2 separate regions of the Homo sapiens genome follow, and region 1 is linked to region 2. The links are contacts of gene promoters, found by promoter capture Hi-C in blood cells and fetal thymus (Javierre and others, 2016). All regions are on one chromosome and are shown on one strand. Each heading gives the region's core, a stretch centred on a gene start or on the middle of the fragment in contact. The rest is flanking DNA. Distances are from core to core; before and after follow the strand shown. Region 1 has its middle 2.0 kb from the start of NCOA6. Region 2 holds the start of MAP1LC3A (microtubule associated protein 1 light chain 3 alpha).

Region 1 (3,033 bases), core at 120-2,619, 270 kb before region 2:
AGGTATCCTTGGAGTAGCCCCGTTTGAACTGGGATCTGAAGACTGAGAGTTATCTAAGTGGGGAGAGCATTGCAGGCAGGGGGATCAGCATGTGCAAGGGTTCTCAGAAAGGAGGGAGAACAATGTGTAAGAAATATCACTGTAGTTGCAACCCAGAGAAAGGGGAAGAGGGCCCTAAGATAAATCTAGAGATGTGGGGAGGCCAACATTTATTTGGTCTTTATCTTTTTTTTAGAGACGGAGTCGCGCTCTGTCGCCCAGCCTGGAGTGCAGTGGCGCGATCTCGGCTCACTGCAAGCTCCGCCTCCTGGGTTCACACCATTCTCCTGCCTCAGCCTCCCGAGTAGCTGGGACTACAGGCGCCTGCCACCACGCCCGGCTAATTTTTTGTATTTTCAGTAGAGACGGGGTTTCACCGTGTTAGCCAGGATGGTCCGATCTCCTGATCTTGTGATCTGCCCGCCTCGGCCTCCCAAAGTGCTGGGATTACAGGCGTGAGCCACCGCGCCCGGCTTGGCCTTTATCTTAAGAGCAATGTAGAGCCATCAGATTTTTTTTTTTTTTTGAGACAGGGTCTCACTCTATTGCCCAGGCTGGAGTGCAATGATATGATCTTAGCTTACTGCAGCCTCAACCTCCCAGGCTCAGGCAATCCTCCCACCTCAACCTCCAAAGTGGCTGGGGCCACAGGTGTGCAGCACCATGCCTGCTATGTTTTTGTCTTTTGTTGTCTTTTTGAGACACGGTTTCCCTTTGCCACCCAGGCAGGAGGGCAGTGGTGTTATCTCGGCTCACTGAAGCCTCCACCTTCCAGCTCAAGTGATTCTTGCCTCATGCCTCAGCCTCCCGATTAGCTGGGACTACAGGTGTGCACCACCATGCCCAGCTAATTTTTGTATTTTCAGTAGAGATGGGGTTTTGCCATGTTGCCCAGACTAGTCTCGAACTTCTGAGCTGACGTGATCCACCCACCTCGACCTCCCAAAGTGCTGGAATTATAGGCATGAGCCACTGAGCCCAGCCATTTTTGTATTTTTTGTTGAGACAGCGTTTGCCATGTTGCTCAGCCCGGTCTTGAACTCCTGGGCTCAAACAATCCACCTGCCTCAGCCTCCCAAAGTGTTGGGATTACAGGTGTGAGCCACTGCACCTGGCCATCAACAGATACTTTTAAGTAGAGTAGTGACATGATCATATTTCTGATCATTAGAAACATTACTCTGACAGCAGGGTGGAGAATAGATTAGAGGGCGGTCAGGGTAATGTGAAAAGATGGTGGGTATCTACTACACCAGTCCAAGCACACTGTGTGTACTCAATAAATATTGATGGAATGAAAGGGTTCCTGACTCCCTTTCTTCTATGGGATCAGTAGGACTGATTTGTTTAATTAGTTTACAATCCACCTGCTCATCCTCTATCTCCTGGGATGCTCAGAACAGACCCCAACTCCCATTTTACAGATGAAGATGCTCAAGTTCAGAGAGGCAAGGACAGCTATCAAGAGCGAAAGCCAAAGAGAGCTGCCATACAATCCAGCAATCCCATTCTTAGGTATACACCGGAAAGAAAGGAAATCAGTGTATGGAAGAGATCTGCACTCTCATGTTTACTGCATCCCTGTTCACAACAGCCAAGATTTGGAAGCAACCTAAGTGTCCATCAACAGATGAATGGATAAATAAAATGTACATATACACAATGGAATACTATTCCGCCATTAAAAAAGAGTGAGATCGTGTCATTTGCAACAATATGGATGGAACTGGAGGTCATTATGTTATGTGAAAGAAGCCGGGCACAGAAAGACAAACTTCACATGTTCTCACTTATTTGTGGGAGCAAAAAATTAACTATTTTTTATTTTTTTTTGAGACGGAGTCTCACTCAGCCACCTAGGCTGGAGTGCAGTGGCGCGAGCTAGGCTCACCGCAACCACCATCTCCCAGGTTCAAGAGATTCTCCCGTCTCAGCCTCCTGAGTAGCTGGGATTACAGGCACCCGCCATCATGCCCACCTAGCTTTTGTATTTTAGTAGAGACAGGGTTTCACCATGTTGGCCAGGCTGGTCTTGAACTCCTGACCTCAGGTGATCCGCCCATCTTGGCCTCCCAAAGTGCTAGGATTACAGGCGTGAGCCACCATGCCGGGCCAGGAGCGAAAAATTAAAACAATTGAACTCATGGAGATAGAGAATAGAAGGAGGGTTACCAGAGGCTGGTAAGATTAATGGGGAGGTAGGTGGGAAGTGGGAATGATTAACGGGTACAAAAGAATAGTTAGAAAGAATAAGACCTAGTATTTGCTAGCACAAGAAGGTGACTACAGTAAAAAACAATTGGCCGGGCGCGGTGGCTCACGCCTATAATCCCAGCACTTTGAGGGGCAGAGGCGGGCGGATCATGAGGTCAGGAGTTCCTGACCAGCCCGGCCAATATGGTGAAACCCCATCTCTACTTAAAAAATATACAAAAATTAGCTGGGCGTGGTGGCATGCGCCTGTAGTACCAGCTACTCAGGAGGCTGAGGCAGGCGAATCCCTTGAACCAGGGAGGCGGAAGTTGCAGTGAGCTGAGATCGCGCCACTGCACTCCAGCCTGGGCGACGGAGTGAGACTCCGTCTCAAAAAAACAAAAATAAAACAAAAAACAAAAAAAAAACCACACACACACAAAATTTACTTGTACATTTTAAAATAACTAGAGTATAATTGGGTTATTTGTAACACAAAGGATAAATGCTTGAGTTGCTAGATACCCCATTTACCATGATGTGATTACACATCGCATGCCTGTATCAAAATCTCATGTACCCCATAAATATATTCACCTACTACGTACTTACGAAAATTTAAAAAATACATCAGTGTAGTGTGGGAAAAAACAGAAAATTTTTAAAAAAGAGTGAAAGCCAGATATGAATCCAGGCCTGTATGACAGACATGAAGTCCAGTGCTGAGGAGGCCTTTCTACGTTTGGGAAGAGGGGAGGGGCCACACTCGTTCGATCAATAATTCTATTTACTGAGCATTTT
Region 2 (2,962 bases), core at 349-2,848:
CAGAGGGACAATGACCACAGATCCATACACCACGTGGAGACCGAGGGGCGGGGAGCCAGGGGCCAGTCTTTCAGGGGTGGGCAGGTCCAGGCGGTGGGCAGAGCCTCGGGTGGGTGAGGGGCAGATGGGCAGACAGGCAGGGGCCTAAAAAAAAGATGAACCACACAGCAGGGGTGCTGGGAGCTGCTCCCCACCCTCCCCCATCCCACCAGCCAGCACCCAGAGGGACAACCCTAACACGACCGGCCCAGGATCCACCCAGGGGCAGAGTAGGTGGGTTGGTGCCCTCTGACTAGGGGGGCACATGCCTGCCCAGCCCACCACGGTAGAGGCAGCTCAGTTCAGGAACCAGGAGCTCTCTGGGCAGGGCCTGACCGGGGCCGCCCGACTCCCAGGCCGAGCCCCCCTACTGCTGGCTCAGAAGCCGAAGGTTTCCTGGGAGGCGTAGACCATATAGAGGAAGCCGTCCTCGTCTTTCTCCTGCTCGTAGATGTCCGCGATGGGCGTGGACACACTCACCATGCTGTGCTGGTTCACCAGCAGGAAGAAGGCCTGCGTGGGGTTCAGCTGCAGGCGGCGCCTGCAGCCGGCGGGAGAGTATGCAGCTGTGAGGGGCTTGGCTGCGGGACGGACATAGCCCTGACCCCCAGAATGATTCCCAGCCTTTCACACCCATTCTCACCCCAGCTGTCACCTCTGACCCAACACCGACTGCAGCCCCGACCTTGACCTTTCCAGCCACCCCAGAACAGGGGCCCACCGCCCGGTCCCATCACCCCTGACCCCACTCCCACCCCTTCTCGGCGGGAACCCGGCTCCCCTCCCGACCCTAGCCACCTCCTGGCGGCGGCTGCCCACGCACCGGATGATCTTGACCAACTCGCTCATGTTGACATGGTCCGGGACCAAAAACTTGGTCTTGTCCAGGACGGGCAGCTGCTTCTCACCCTTGTAGCGCTCGATGATCACCTGGGAGCAGGGCGGGCGGGCAGGGGGTCGTGTCGGGAACGCGCGAGGCGGGGGCGGGGCAGGGCTGGGGGTGCGGGACTCACCGGGATTTTGCTGGGGTGCTGGTCGCGGATCTGCTGTACCTCCTTACAGCGGTCGGCTGCGGACAGCGGCCAGACCGTGAGGCCGGGTCGGGCCGGCCCAGGTCCGCCCCGCCTGTCCCGGAGGGGCGGCCCCCGGCCACGCCCCAGCTCCAGCCCCCACCCCCGGGGCCATCAGGCCCCACAGCCCCTGGCACCTATCGCGGTGGGGAAGCGGGCAGCCCCCGCCCAGGCCGGAGCTGGTCCCAGCCCGAGGGTCCAGCCAGAGCCTGACGTCACGGGGCTGACGTCACCTGCGGCAGTCGGGGTCGGCCGGCACCCCTGCCCCAGAGCTCGCAGCTCGCCTGCCGGGCCTCACCGAAGCTCCGCCGCTGCTTGAAAGGCCGGTCTGAGGGCATCGCGCGGGCCCGGCTGGGCGCGCAGGCCGGGGCTCTGGGGCGCGGGGATGTGTCTGCGGTTTGGGGGCTCCGGGGGCTCCGCGCCTCGCGCTCAAGGGCTCCGGGGCTCGCGCTGAGCACGGCGGCTGCGGCTGCGGGAGGTAACTCGCCCGGTGACGTCAGGTCACAACATTCCTTAAAGGGGAGGCCAGTGCGCCGCTCCCATTGGGCCGACGCACAACCCGCCCGCCCGGACCCGTGACGTCACGGCGCAGAGAGCCTGGGTCCGCGGACCGGGACGCGAGGGGCGGGGCTTCTGGGCGCGTCACAGTCCCGTGACGTCATGGGCAGCGCGGGAGCTTCTCCCGCAGCCCGAACTCAAGGTAAGGCCCGGAGGGCGGTGGGGCCGCCCTAGGCCGATGGAGCGGGCGGGCCAGGCTGCAGCCCCACGGCACCACTTCCCGCCCTCACCGAGTCTGTGTCAGGACTGACGCGGTTCTGGGCGCCGTGGGAAACAGCCGGAGCCAAAGGCCCGGCGCCTTCACGGGGCTTAGGGCGAGAGAAGGGAGAAGGTGCGGGAGGCACAGTCAGACACAGGATAGAACAGGATGCTAGAAATGAACGCCCAGGTTTGAAAAAGAATAATATAATTGAAAAGTAGAGCCATCGAAATTCAGGTCTCAGAGGATGAGGTGAGAAGGCAGAAAAGGACAACAGAAGAGAAATCGTGGACCTGGAGGCTGATCGGAAGCAGCTCACCAGAGAGACAGGTGATGGGGAATAAGGAAAAGGGCACAGATGGCAACGCCAGGAGAACTCGCGGGCCCGAGCAGAGCTCCAGAGGCGAACACTGAAAGACCTGCAGAGACAGTTCCTGAAAAAGAGCTGCCAGAAATGATGCTTAAAATCCAGAGCAGAATGCGCAGACTGAAGATCAACATTTTTTTGGGGGAGGGGGGAGGGGGACGAAGTCTCGTTCTGTCGCCAGGCTGGGGTGCAGTGGTGCGATCTCAGCTCACTGCAACCTCTGCCTCCCGGGTTCAAGCGATTCTCCTGCCTCAGTCAGCCTCCTCAGTAGCTGGGATTACAGGCGCCTGCCACCACCCCCAGCTAATTATTGTATTTTTAGTAGAGATGGAGTTTCACCATGTTGGCCAGGATGGTCTCGATCTCCTGACCTCGTGATCCACTCGCCTCGGCCTCCCAAAGTGCTGGGATTACAGGTGTGAGCCACCACGCCTGGCCGCCGAAATAATTTTTAAAGAATGTAGTTTAGTAACAAGGACATGGAACCCAAAAGGAAGAAATTAGATGGAAAAATGGTGAGCAAATTGGTAAACATGTGAATCTAAACAAGCATTTAATATGCAATATGAATAATAATGATTAATTTGTGGGCCACAGAAACAAGATGCATGAGACACAAGAACATGGAAGACTGAGAGGGCAATTTGAGAGGGGGTTAAAGAGACTGAGCATTGTCTGGCTTTGTAAAGTCAGGTGTGTATTTCAGATATTTAAGAGGATCACCAAAAG

The links. The method cuts DNA at HindIII sites, captures the fragments that hold promoters and counts their contacts. A CHiCAGO score of 5 or more calls a contact.
Region 1: a contact is called between a fragment that was not itself captured here and the fragment with the promoter of MAP1LC3A in region 2, in 1 of 17 cell types (neutrophils). The highest score is 5.2, in neutrophils.

What each region holds. Positions count from the first base shown.
Region 1 is chr20:34,826,145-34,829,177 of GRCh38, reverse strand. No RefSeq gene overlaps it. Among named protein-coding and RNA genes, the nearest start is that of NCOA6, 2.0 kb to the right of the region's middle. The HindIII fragment of the contact is 3,463 bases long and covers 1-3,033 here.
Region 2 is chr20:34,557,354-34,560,315 of GRCh38, reverse strand. MAP1LC3A (microtubule associated protein 1 light chain 3 alpha) reads right to left here and starts at 1,598. Exons shown (of 4, transcript NM_032514.4): 1 at 1,408-1,598; 2 at 1,053-1,108; 3 at 863-969; 4 at 1-580. The coding sequence starts at 1,447. The coding sequence ends at 418. RefSeq lists silencers at 1,417-1,466, 1,807-1,896. The HindIII fragment of the contact is 14,836 bases long and covers 1-2,962 here.